2 separate regions of the Homo sapiens genome follow, and region 2 is linked to region 1. Evidence: promoter capture Hi-C in 16 types of primary human blood cells and fetal thymus (Javierre and others, 2016). All regions are on one chromosome and are shown on one strand. The core of a region is centred on a gene start or on the middle of the fragment in contact, and the rest is flanking DNA. Distances in the headings are between cores, read along the strand shown.

What was found. Contacts are between HindIII fragments. The CHiCAGO score rates a contact against its expected background, and 5 or more counts as called.
Region 2: a contact is called between a fragment that was not itself captured here and the fragment with the promoter of HIF1A in region 1, in 1 of 17 cell types (M2 macrophages). The highest score is 5.7, in M2 macrophages.

Annotation. Positions count from the first base shown.
Region 1 is chr14:61,693,104-61,700,098 of GRCh38, reverse strand. HIF1A (hypoxia inducible factor 1 subunit alpha) reads right to left here and starts at 4,586. Exons shown (of 15, transcript NM_001530.4): 1 at 4,260-4,586. The coding sequence starts at 4,294. HIF1A-AS1 (HIF1A antisense RNA 1) reads left to right here and starts at 4,276. Exons shown (of 2, transcript NR_047116.1): 1 at 4,276-4,392. RefSeq lists silencers at 4,128-4,227, 4,528-4,827 and an enhancer at 4,898-5,267. The HindIII fragment of the contact is 8,611 bases long and covers 967-6,995 here.
Region 2 is chr14:60,324,103-60,331,097 of GRCh38, reverse strand. No RefSeq gene overlaps it. Among named protein-coding and RNA genes, the nearest start is that of LINC02322, 4.4 kb to the right of the region's middle. RefSeq lists a silencer at 2,870-3,179 and an enhancer at 3,290-3,349. The HindIII fragment of the contact is 1,908 bases long and covers 2,520-4,427 here.

The DNA of each region.
Region 1 (6,995 bases), core at 3,337-5,836:
TTTTTATGAAACAAAAATTTTAAATTTTGTTTTAAAAATTCAGGTTTTAGATACTAGATTTCTCTAAAGGGATCATGTCTGGCAAATAAATAAGGGTTTATAAATTTCTACTGCAGAAAACATGAACATTAATACTCAACGCATATACAAAACAGTTAATTCTTGATGTGTCAAGAGACCAAGAGATATAATTATTTTTAAAATTCCAAAGCCTATAGTTAATTTAAACAATCTGACCATATTTTTACCAAAAATACTGAGCAACAAGAAGCTTGGCTTGTCTTAGTTTCAAATTCTCTTTCTAACCTTCCAGAGTTAAGCAGAAAACACATACACACACTGGGTAAAATCCACCCACTGGATAACTAGTCACAAAGTTTAAAAAATCAATTTCTTGATTGGAAACTCATCCAACATCACATTTAAATTTAGATTTTTTTATCCTGGTTAAGAAACAGACTTATGTTAATCTTAGATAAAGGGATACAGTATTTTAAGTATCTAAATTTAAAAAATTATATACTAAGAGAAGGCATCTATGAACACACAATTTAACCCAAATCTTTAACATCCATGCACATCAATTTTTATTTCACCACCAAACATAATAAACTGAGTTCTTCAGAAAAAAAAAAAAAATCAGTCAAGAGACTAAATAATCCCCCTCAGCTTTCTATACACCACTCTTGACATACAAGAATAGAATGTAACCACAAAATCTAAACCCTGAGCCGTGACACCATTAGAGTCACAGACAATGGCGTTAAAAGTAAAGACAATGGAAGTTAACAGGTAGAAAAGTTGACATTCTCCAAACTGCACAAGGTGCTCTGCAGTGGACCGTAGGAATGAACTCCAATACTTTCTCAGTCTAAAATAACTCGATAGTTCAGTAAATACACACGTGTGGAAGAGTGCATAGACTTCATACAAATTGAGCCACAAAACAGACCAGTAAGACAAGCTTGAAGTCTTGCCTTCAGATGGAACCCAATGGTCTTAACTCTGGAGAAACTCATAAGCAAAGGACAGTTTTTCTACCACGTAGCTGCTTTACTGAGAATATTTTATCAACTCATTATCTTTTACAAAGGTTAATTTTTATAAAATTGTCTAAACTTTGGCATCAAGACGAAAAATGTTTTAACTTACTGCCAGTACTAAGAATGCAGTGTCTTGCACATATCTTGCTTAAATGAACAGTAAGACTAGAATACTGTGTATGTTTGACTCTAGAGTCCAGAGTAAACTCAGTATTCTATTTGGGGAGAAAACACAGGGGTGAGCAATTGTGAAGCAGGAGGCCTCCACTAGAGTAGAGAGCAGATCAGATGCTCAAGAAAAATAACTGATACTAGGTGCCAATATAACCCAAGGATGTACTCTTTTGCCCATTGTAACAGGAAAAAAACGCTTTTCAAGCTCTGGATCCAATGTTAGTCTTTTCACTTTCAGGAGATAGAAAAGATGCATGAAGACACAGAAAAGAAACTAAAGGAAACAGCTGGAAGGACTAGCAAAAAAGAGTTTTAAGAGTTGTGGAAGTTTAAACAAGAATTTTAACAGGTAACATCTATTTTCAAGTACACAGTGTCATCAAGACTCCTGCAATGGGCTAAGTGCTTCACAAGCATTATCTCATTTAACCTTTACAATAACTGCTCAGATGGCTGCTATTCTTATCATCATTTCAAAAGGAGGAAAGAGGCTCAGAGGCATTCAGTAACTTGCTCAAGCTCACAAGTGAAGGGCTGGGACCCTTAACTCAGAGGTATCTGCCTCTAGATCCTATGCTCTTAACCACCATATGCTGCTTCCTCAAACAAAAGGACAATCAAAATAGAATCATAAGGAGAAAAGTTTGCTAATAAATGAGAGAGCTTCTTGACTTTTAATGGCCAAAGTTAATGAAGGAAATTAAGGAATATCTATTCTCAGAAATTTTACTTTAATGATTCAGTAATTATTTGTTTTGGAAAACTCTGAAGGAGTCTGGCCTGAAGCCTGAAACAGAATCATTACTCTCTTGACATTCCCTTAAAAATCTAAAAATCAAAATGCACGTGCTATTAAATAAGTTCAGCCCCTATAACTAGGAACAACATGAAATGTCCTGCGTTAAATCTACAGTATCATAACCATACCCATTTTCTATTCTGATTTCTTCCAATTCTTCAGGTTTTGAGTTTCCTAGACCTTCTTTTAAAAAGACAAATTTGTTTTCCAAACTCCGACATTGGGAGCTCATTTAAAATGAAAAAAAAAATTGCTTGAAGAAAATCTCCGTCCCTCAACCTCTCAGTTATCTTTCAAAAAACTGTAAATTAGTTAGAAAAGGTCATCTATTATAAACAGCATCTAAAAGTGCTGAGTAACCACCACTTATTAAGTGTTTAACTTAATTTTTCAGTTATATCAAGAACTTCTATACTAAGAAATATGAATCCATCCAATCCAAGGTTGCCAAGTTTTCAAATGAGAAAATTTTGAAAGTAACAGATGGGCTGAGGAAAATCTAAGAGCTTATTTAGAATTGGGGCTGATGAACAGTAGCTAATTTATTAATTCGTTTCAAAACTGCTTCTGATATTCTGAACGGATGAATGGCAAAACAATGAGTTCGATACTGTATATAAAAAAAGTGGTACATAATTTAATGCATTGTATTAAGTATGATTCAATATATAATAAGGATAGAAAACTGGCACTACACAGAGGTAATCTGCCTTAGGTTTACAATATAGCAGCTTTATCATTTCATCAAAAGCACTGTAATCACCTCCGCAAAATAAACTGCAATTAATTCCTGGTAACTCTTGGAATTAATCTAGACCTGTTTGCTCACTTTTTGAATTTTATAAGTGACCTTCTCTGCTGTATACAAACTAAGAATTTAATATTCTATTGAAGAAGGACCAGGAGAAGGGATCTACAAAACAGCAGGAATATAAACAAGTTTATCTTCTGCTGATACTGATTAGGGAAATTAATCTCTCTGCCAGAAGAGTGGAAGGATTTAACAGCAAAGCCAGTCTACTAACCAAAACTCTTACTCTAAATCTTCAATTCCTTAAGTGATTTCCTTAAAAGTTAAAATGCCAAAGTGGGCAAAATTGTGTGTGTGTTGGGGGATGGGGGAGTCCGCTCTTAACACCACTGGTCCAACTCACAATTCTTAATCTCTAATGTACCCCTTAGACTCAAACTTCAAGGTGATTTATAAAACTTGCATTAAGTTCTAACCGAGTGATTACTTACTTTAGATATATGTTGACGGTTTTCCTTTAATATACTTCAATTTCAGGAAAATGAGACAGAGTTCGAAAATTTTTGCAACATTTTAGTGCCGCATTTCATTCACTCATCATATACTTTTTTCAGTATCATTAAAACTGCCTAAATTTAACCAGCCCCTACATTTTCATTATTTGAAGAATGAATGAGGCATATATTCATTTATAATATCTGCGTTCTCGTGACAGGTGATATGAACTCAAGTATCCAATTCTGAAGTTCTCTTTAAAATGTTGCCATTTCCCTAAATTCCCATTACTCTGACTCTCAGTCTAGGCAAGTTTTTCAAGGCGATTAAAACGAAACAAAACCTGCACGTGCAAACTAAAAAGTTCGCATCTTAAGGCCATCGCGGCAAATCCCTAATGCACAAAGGCAAAGACACCCGCGACGGCTGGACAACTACAGGACAAGATCGCATCCGACCACGCGAGTCCCTCAGTCGGGAACTCAAGGCCCCAAGTCCACTGGAAAGCCAGGACCAGCGTGCAGGGTCCGCCCCAGGGCCGAGTTTTCAATGGAACTGGAGAGGATGGGGGCGGGAAGGAGCGGAAGCTCCGGGTGCAAACCGCGGCTACCGAGCTGCAGCTCATTTCTCTTCCCGGGGTTTTCAGGCTGGGTAAAGTCCCCTCCGGATGGGGCCACAGAGCAGGCTGGGTTTTTGAGGCGGGTAGGTGGGCGGCGCGAGGCCCCCACGGCCGGCGGGGAGGGCAAGCAGGGCTCAGACCCCGGCCCCTGAAAGCACTTTCGAGGCGTCTCCCACCCCCCACGACAAGATGGCGACGTGGACAGCGGGGGAGCCCGGCCGGCGAGGTTGGGGGAAGAGAGGGGAGGGGAGCAGCAGCAGAAACAAAAAGGCTGCCCCCCCCAATCCCATTAACGCCGAGGCCGGCCCAGGAGCCCAGGGCGGGCAGGCGGGCGGGGTCGCCGGGGGAGAAGGCGGCGGGCCGAGGGAATGGGCTTACTTTTTCTTGTCGTTCGCGCCGCCGGCGCCCTCCATGGTGAATCGGTCCCCGCGATGTCTTCACGGCGGGCGGCCCCCAGGCTCGCTCCGGCCTAAGCGCTGGCTCCCTCCACACGCGGAGAAGAGAAGGAAAGGCAAGTCCAGAGGTGGGGGTGCGAGGCGGGAAACCCCTCGTGAGACTAGAGAGAAGCGGGCGGCAATCGCCGGGGTCCGGGCCCGGCTCCGAGCCTCTCCTCAGGTGGCTTGTCAGGGCCCAGCCCGACACACTGGCCGAAGCGACGAAGAGGGTGATCCTCCTGTCCCCTCAGACGAGGCAGCACTGTGCACTGAGGAGCTGAGGCAGCGTCAGGGGGCGGGCAAGGGCGGAGGCGCGCTCGGGCGCGCGGGGAGGGGAGAGGGGGCGGGAGCGCGCCCGCTCGCCTGCCCAGGCCGGCGCGCGCTCCCGCAAGCCCGCCTCACCTGAGGTGGAGGCGGGTTCCTCGAGATCCAATGGCGAGCGACGCAGGCGGCAAGTCCCCACCCCAGCCCACGCCGCTCTCAGCCAATCAGGAGGCGGTCAGCTGAGGCACAGCTGGGACGGGCTGCGACGCTCACGTGCTCGTCTGTGTTTAGCGGCGGAGGAAAGAGAAAGGAGATGGGGGTGCGGCTCAGCCCGAGTCTGGGGACTCTGCGCCTTCTCCGAAGGAAGGCGGTGCCCGGCTTTGGGAGGCGCTGCTGAGAAGGGATTTCGGTTGCCTGGTCCCAAACATGCATCATATTTTCCTACTCTTGGTGCAGTAATGTAATGCTCCTGCTCTCTTTCTCCTCGGCCTCAGTGCTGGGCACGATTGCCGCCCAACTCTGCTGGGCTCTCTGTTCAAAAAAGCAGACTTCGCCTCGTGGCAGCAAGCCCTTCCTTTGGTCTCGTTGCTCAGATGTGTTACAACGGGGTCTTTCCTTACCAGATTACCTAACCATGGGTCAATGTCACCCACCGCACTCTTTGCCACGGAGCACAGGGGAACTCACCTTGTCTACTAAGTTTTTCTGTGGCGGAGTTTACTTACTGAATAAATGCAATTAAAAATAAAAATGAACTCCTGTTGCTGTAAACTTCAAGGGAAATAAAGTTGCAGGGAAATCTTAAAATCTGAAACTATGTTAAGCATTTGCAAATAGGTATAAATGACTTTAATAAGCATATAAACCAATTTCAGGGAAAGAGTAGAAAAAATGGCCTTTGGCAACTTTGCAAGCTACTAAACAAAACATAATCACTTTTGTCTTTGGAGGCATAAACTTCAAGCCTGTCAGTCTTCTAAAAGAAAAATATGTTTTGAGCCCAACAAAGTAGCATTGCACATATATCTCCACTTGGCGCTAAATTATTTTACTTCTCACCTTTGCCTTATGAGTTTCTTGTTAAAACCTAGCTTTGGGTTGTAAATATAAATATCTGTAGTGGCTTTCAATTGTATTAGCATGTAAAAACAATGGTCTATATAGAAGCATCAAACTCTGACAAGACAACAACCAATGTATACAGCACCTCTTTTTAACTGGTCAGTAGACCTACAAAGATACGATTAAACATTGACCTTAGCGGACAGGGTGGTTCCAGCTACTCAGAGGTGTGAGGCTGGAGAAGCCTGGGTGTTCCAGCCTAGGGAACGTAGCGAGACTCCGTCTCTTTAGAAAATTTTTGATCTTCACGCTACTTTTGTTTTTTCAGATCTACAACACTAAATGATATGTATTATGTCTTGAAAAGAACCATGGGAAATGCCTGAAGAGAAGAAAGAACTAAAAATAATTACTCATAATTTCTTTTTTAATTGTGGAAAGAATACTGTAAATTAAAAACTTTTTAGTTTAACATTCTCAAGATACTGTGTTAAGAACACTGGCTCCAGAATCAAGCGTGAGCTTGTACACAGGCTTTGAATCTTACTGGCAAGTCGTTTAATCTCTCCATAACTCAGTTTACTTATTTATAAAATGGATATAAAAGTGTCTATACCACAGTATTATGGATGGTTAAATGAGATAATAAATGTATACTTAGAACAATATCTGGTGCATAGTAAGCACTCAGTAAATGTTAGCTCTTAGTATTGTTGGTGGCGTTATTATTATTATCATTATTATTATTCTGAGGCGGAGTCTCGCTCTGGCCCACAGGCTGGAGCGCAGTGGCGCGATTTCGGCTCACTGCAACTCCGCCTCCCAGGTACAAGTGATTCTCCTGCCTCAGCCTCCCAAGTAGCTGGGATTACAGGCACGCACCACCACACTCGGATAATTTTTCTATTTTTAGTAGAGACGAGGTTTCACCATGTTGGCCAGGCTGCTCTCGAACTCCTGACCTCAGGTGGTCCGCTCGCCTCGGGTTCCCAAAGTGCTGGGATTACAGGCATGAGCCACAGTGCCTGGCCTATCATCATTATTATTGCCCTCAAATTTATTCCTCTGTTAACAGTAATTACTCGGGCTTCTCCTACAGTTTAGCCATTTTTAACTATCCAAGAATACCAATTATGTTAATATAAATCCACATATATTCTCTATTTTCAACTTTGGAACTGCCCATCGTGTTCCCACCCTCATTTATGAGGATAGCTGCAGAGATCTTCCATCATTTCCCTTTTCATTATACTTATAGCAATTATCTCTGGCCAGTGATTATAGTATATAATGTTTGTGACATCAAAAGACAAGCATTTTGTAACAGTAAATCTAAGTCATTTAAAATTTTTTT
Region 2 (6,995 bases), core at 2,224-4,723, 1.4 Mb after region 1:
TTTCAGTTTTGAAGTTCTGTTAAATGGGGCTCTTGGAGTAAAATGGTAGTGTATTAAAGGAAAGTGATAAATAGCTCATGATTTGTATGGAGCTTTTTAAACCGGGTTTTCAATTCTGTGTGATTTTCTAAAAAAACAGTTTTGCTGTGAGTAGATTTCTGGCATGTTTCTAATGCTTGTAAGCTCTGAAGATCTAAAGCCATGATCACATTAGACACAGATGTCCAGAGAGTGGACAGAGGGTGTCCCGCTGATAAAATTGTTTGGTAGAATTTTCCTGAGTTGTAGAAAAATAATTTTTTAAGTCATTGGTACCTGTTTTGATATGTCTGCTAGTGAGCGCTAATGGAACGTTGGGCAAAGGCAGACTGGAGCATACTTCGTGAAGGAGCCTTTCTCTAGGGCCAACCGCAGTGGACTTTTTTGGTCCCCCTGAATCATAGATGAATCTGCAACTTAAATTGTGGTCATCCCTTACCACTTAGGATATTTTTAATTTTTATTATTAATTTTATTATTTATTATTGTTATTCCTTGTGTTATTTTTGTTGTATCTCAGTACAATGTGACTTCATGTTTTTATTAACCCATTTTTAAAAACTTGCTTGCATCCTACTTTCTGTGAAATGATAGTCTGATAAACTACATATTTTTTCAAATATGTTTTAAAATATATGCATAACAATTTAAAAGTTTTAAAGTTCATCCATATGCTTACTACCCTAAATCATCTTGAGTAAGTGTAAACACAACCATAACTGTACACTGTAAAAATGATATGAGAGATTTTTAAAAACCAGGATCCTACATAGGCAACAGATGGCTTAAAAGAGAATGCAAAAATCCATGTTTGTAAAATGAGTGCACATGAGTTTATAATAGAGTTCATTGACTTAAGCACGAGTGTCAATTTGTGAGCTTGTATGTCTATGTGAGAGACAGAACAGTCAACTACACCTACTATTCATTGTGGCCTTATGTGGCATTCTTGTATGAACTTCCAAATACTCCTTAATGTAGTTGGGTGTGGTGGCTCACACCTGTAATCCCAGCACTTTGGGAGCCTGAGAGGGGGCAGATCACTTGAGGTCAGGAGTTCCAGACCAGCCTGGCCAACATGGTGAAACGCTGTCTCTACTAAAAATACAAAAATTAGCCAGGCGTGGTAGCAGAGGCCTGTAATCCCAGCTACTCAGGAGACTGAGGCAGGAGAATTGCTTGAGCCCAGGAGGTGGAGTTTGCAGTAATCACGACATTGCACTCCAGCCTTAATAAGCAATTGGTAAAATACTTACCCACTGTACCATAATAAATTACTATTGCTGTAGCCAAAAGCAAATAAATTTGAAAGGTAGGTTAGTTTCTTCTGGCTTATCTAAGGTGGATATACAATGACTTTCAGGCTTTGGAAATCATTGAAACATAGCTCTTGGATCCTGTGGCAGAGATAAGGGAATCATTCCAAAACCTGGCCACAGAATTGAAGCTGTGTAAGGAGGGAAGTGAGGACATGATGAGGGTGAGGGAGAATTTAAAAGGTGGTAGGGTTAACAGAACATGGTCCCAGGGAAGTTGAGTACCAGAGGCCCTGCATTTTCCATGTGACCTAAGGGTTCCCAGAAATGGAGACAGGAAGTCCATGTTTCTTAATGCCTCACAGTCAAACTCCTACTTTACACAAACCCACGTTACTGGGGAAAGGTTCGCATGTGGCCAAAGCACCCTCCACCAGATAAATGCATAAAAAAGGAATTAAAACTTTATTCTATTCTTTCAAACATAAGGGTTCCTCCATCAGGTATGCCTTTTTCTTGGCAATTACTGAATAATCACAATGATAGCTTCACATGTATGGAGGACCCTCAGTGTGTCAGAATTCTTGTTAAGTCAAAAGGAATAATTCTATTTACAGGAAACAAAGGCAGCCCATTGTCAGGCTGACACTGTCCACAGATTTTATCCATGTAGCTTGCTTCTTGCAAACTCCACGCAGGCAGGGATTCTTACCTGTTTTGTTCAGGTTCCAAGCACCTGGGCTTAGCACATAGAAGGCTCTTAAACATTTGTTAAATGAATGAATGAACCTCAACCTTTCTCACCTTCAGTGAAAAGCACTGCAAGGTGATTGAGGAGAAAATAAGGAAGCCTTAGTCCCTGACATTTGTTGAGAAAGGGGTCGAGGAGATGATGAGGGGTGGGGAGAGGAGGCTTTTCCCATGGAACTCTCCAACACTGCTGCAGAAAGCCAAGCACATGACATGCACCACACGACCCCTAGGTGGTGGTCCTTGCAGCCGATTTCAGAGACCATAGCCCCAAAAGTGCAGAGGGTTCCTCTGTTCCCTCTCCTTGGACAGTTCCCATTAGTCTGTCTGGCCTTACCTTTCTAAAGAAATTTGCCGCTTGAAAATCACAGTGATGTACGTTATTGAGTCCCCAGAACTCTCAATCCCCTCTGTTTTTGCCCATCCCAAGCCCAAACTGGCAAGCTCTCTTTCTGCCCGATCTTCCAGGAAGCTTCCCCAACTGCCACAGTCCTGTCCAATTTCACTGAATTTTATTATTTTCAATAGACATATTTTTTAAATGTCTCTCTAAAAGCGACTTAAGATTATTATGTAAGATTTTTATAAGATTATTAACTTTGTAAGATTTTGCCCATCTGAATCAATCTCCAAATCATAGAAAAAATGTTATTGACCTGATAATCGTGTTTCAATCCGGGGTTTGGAAAAGATGTTCACCACATGGAAATCATGGCTAAGACCCATTTCGCACAAAATGCACACTCAGGCATGGTTCAGTATCACGGTGCAGTGTGTGCGTGTCGGGTACCTCACCAGCCACACTTCGGCTTTGTAAAGGTGGGTTGGGGAGCCGAGTCCTCCCATCCTTTCACAGCCCCCGCAGGCCCTGGGTGAATGCTGGTCTAGTGAATTCACAGCTCCCGGGCAACTCCCAGCCGCGAGGCGGGGCGGCAGGGTGGAGGGAGCCACCCGCGGAGAGGCCTCGACCCCCACCCCAGCGAAGCCTAGGGCCGGGGAGCTGCACCTCGGCGCACCCCGCCTGGCGCCCTGAGCCCGCGTGGGCCCGGGCCGGGTTTGCGGGGAGGCAGCTCGGCTCCCGGAGGTCCTCCCGCAGGCGGCGCCCTCCGAGCCAGGCGCGAAGTGCACCCAGGCCCCGCAGCCCAGCGCCGCGTGGCCATCCAGAGGGATTTGTCAGCGCGCCCTATATAGCCGCAGACAGCTGCCATCTGTTATGTTTAGTAACACCACCACGCCGCTCCCCCTTCCTTGAGAATAAACCCGCCTTGGTCATTAAGCCACGAGGATATTTTTTTAACGACTCCCACTCCCTCTTGCAAGCAGTCTTAGCTCATCAGTCCGGGTCTGAGTCTTGAGCGCCCAATTCTGCTTCCTCACTGCGTCCTGGGCGCTCTCTGAGCTGGACGAGCCATCCACTGTGGGCTTGGGCCCCGGGCAGGTGCTTACAGGAAAAGGCGGAGACAGCGCCTCCCTCCATGGGTGCAGCGAGGAGAAAAATCCGTGGTGTGTGACCATTTTAATGCATCGCATTTCAGTTCTGCAAATGCAAAGTGTAAATTAGGCTAGAACATGATTGTGAATCAGACCAGACGTCATGATTAATTTATCACTGTGCTCCAGATACATCAGCTAAAATAATATGAATTTAAAGTAACGGTTCCTCCCGCCTTTGTGTTTGCTGGTGAACTCTAAAGAATAGATCACTAGAGAAATAAAGGAACTTAAGAGTCCACTCTATTCTCGTATTAGCGGAGCATGAACATAATTAAACATTCTCAATAAGGTTTCTTCCACCGTTTGAAATTAAATTTGCCCACCCACATTTTGTATCCGTCTGTGTAACACTCACTGATGCACCCTGAGCTGCTGATAAACATTGAGGCGGAGATTAGCTTTTTCATATTTCAGGTAACATTTATGATGCCTCAAGTTCTGGTTCCCAAACTGGCTGATTATCAAAATTGTCTAGGGCCTTGCCACTAAAAGTGTGGTCCATGAAGTAGCGGCACGGTATCACTTTTGAGATCGTTAGGAATGCAGAATCTCAGGCCCTACTCAGACCTGTTGATGGGAGTCTAAATTTTTTACAAGACCTGCCCTCACCACATCACCACCCCCATTAAAGTTTGAGAAGAATTGATGTAGTTTTTTAAAAACCACAAATACCTTTGCTCAGACATCTATATATGTTTAGTAAGCAGCCGAGTTGATTCTTATAAGTTGAGTTGTCAAGTTTGGAGGTCACTGGTCTTTGAGGCTCAAGGTTCAGATGACTTTTATGCTGATGACATGAACCAAATTTATTAAATCAGTGGAACTCTCTCTGAAAGTTTGGTACAGGTGAGTTTATCTGTTTAGTCATCCATGAATTACAAGAAAGCTTATTAATTATTTAGTTAAATAATGACACATTTAGTCCTCCAATTAGGAAAGCTCAACACTAGGAAGGAGGATTTTCTCCTTATGTAACTGGCTCATTCACTCCCAGACTGAGTGTAGGCATGAGGAAATCTTTTGCTTGGCCATCAAAGCCGCCCCCACCCCCTTCGAATGTTCTGACTTTCTTTATAACAGTACCTTTCATTCAGAAGAATACAAACATCCCTTGTGCTGCTGTTCAGTGATGTTGAGGGCTGTACTGGAGGACTGTGTCTAGTTCTGGACCTCACAATAAAAGAGGGATGTGGGGACCTTGGCAAAGGTTCAGAAGATATTTGTAAAGGTTATTTTTTAAATTCAGAATGAATCTTCACATTGTGTGGCATTATCTATAAAATGGACATGAAATGAACTTTGACTGTAGCTTGAGATTTTTACTTTAAGAGAAAAGCAATTGTAGAAATAAGTGGAGGAAGAAGAAAGAATGTCTCTTGAGCACAAGTTCTCACCTTGTGCATTAGTTACAATGACCTGGAGAAATTTTTTAAAACCCCAATGCCAGTTAAGTTGGGGGAGTCTTTGTGGTTGGGACCTGAGCATCAATAGTTTTTCAAGTACTCCAGGTGATTCCAATGCACAGCTCCTGAGCAGTGCTGCTGCAACTTTAATGTCATTGGCACCACCTGGGAAGTTTGTTAAAATGCAGATTGTGGCCGGTGCAGTGGCTCACACCTGTAATCCAAGCATTCTGGGAGGCCAAGATGGGCAGATCACTTGAGGCCAGGAGTCTGAGATCAGCCTGGACAACATGGCAAAAACCTGTCTCTACTAAAAATACAAAAAGTAGCTGGGTATGATGGTGCATGCCTATAATCCCAGCTACTTGGGAGGCTGAGACACCAGAATCACCTGAATTCAGGAGGTGGAAGTTGCAGTGAGCTGAGATTGTGCTACTGTACTCCAGCCTGAGAGAGCAAGACTGTGGGGCAAGAGATTCTGCAATTCTAAGAAGCATCTAAGTGAAGTCAAAGCCCTGGTTTTATGAACCAGGCTTTGAGTAGCAAAGGCTAGCGGGGTTTGAAAGTAAACTAAACTCTCTGCCAGGAAAAATCCATGATCTTATTTTCAGGCCATCTCAAAGTCTCCTATGGCTTTATGACACCTGTCAACATGCAAAAGAGATAACTCCAACCACCACATAAGCCAATGAAAAGAAAACCAAGCCAAGTGCGGGTGCAGTGGCTCATGCTTATAATCTCAGCACTTTGGGAGGCCAAAGTGGGAGGATTCTTGAGGACAGGCATTTGAGACCAGCCTGGGAATCATAGCAAGACCTCATGTCTTTAAAAAAAAAAAAAAAAAAAAGTTTAAATTAGCCAGGTGTGGTGGTGTGCACCTGTAGTCCCAGCTACTTGGGAGGCTGAGCCAGGAGGATCACTTGAGCCCAGCAGTTTGAGACTGCAGCTGCAGTGAGCTATGCACCACTGCGCTCCAGCCTGGGTAACAGAGTTAGATGCTGTCAAAAAAGAAAAGAAAAGAAGGAAAGGAAGGAAGGAAAGAAGGCAGGCAGGAAGGCAGGAAGAAAGAAAAAAGAAAGAAAGAAGGAAAGAAAGAATAAAAGAAAGAAAGAAAGGAAAAGAAAAGAAAAAAGAAAGAAAGGACAGAAAAGAAAAGAGACAGAAGAAAAGAAAAGAGAGAAAAGAAAAGAAAAAGAAAAAGCAAACCGGAAGCCAGGGTGAGGAACACTGCTTTGGATGAAAACATTTAACAATGAACAGTATCTCCTTGAATTGGAAAGTATTTATAGGAGAACTTAAAAGAGAGAACTTTTTCTGGACAACATTACCATCCCTATTCTCACAATTCCATTTCTTCAAGATAGCTTTAGTAGTAAACAGAGTTGTCATATGTGTAATGGGGCAGATGATCAAGTGCAGTGGCAGCTGGGGTGTAAGAGCTGCTATATCTATGCTAGTAACATTTGGTCCAAAGCTGAGCCAGCTCAGAACCTAGATGTTTCTCTGAATTCTGGAGATAGTGAGAACCAGCCACTTTGTCAAGAGATTCCATTCAGCTGTCAACATGATGGCACAAGTCGGTAAAGCAAAATTTAAAAATGTTTAAACTTGAAAATGTCCACAGTAATATTTATAGTTAGCCTAAATGAAAAGGCTTTACATGTACTATCTCATTTAATCCTTGCAATAATCTTATAGATAATTACTATTATTATCCCGATTTTACAAATAAGACAACAGAGCTCAGAGAAGGCAAGACACTTGCCCTACTTTGAAACTAAACTAGAAACTAGTGTTTCTAGAAACACTTTCTAGAAACTAGAAAGTGGCAGAGCCAGGATTGGAACCCATTCGTTTGATTCCAGAGTCCCCACATTAAGCTCAACAGTGTGATAACAAAGCTAGTTTGCCATTGGGGATTTTCTGTCAATATTCCTGCTGCTATAAGCAGTGTGTTCATGTTTTCCTTAGTGTTTGGTCTAAATATTTTTCAAAAGCAGTCTTTTAATTTTTTAATTAGCTTGGTTCCCCAACAATAAAGCTCTTTAAAGGT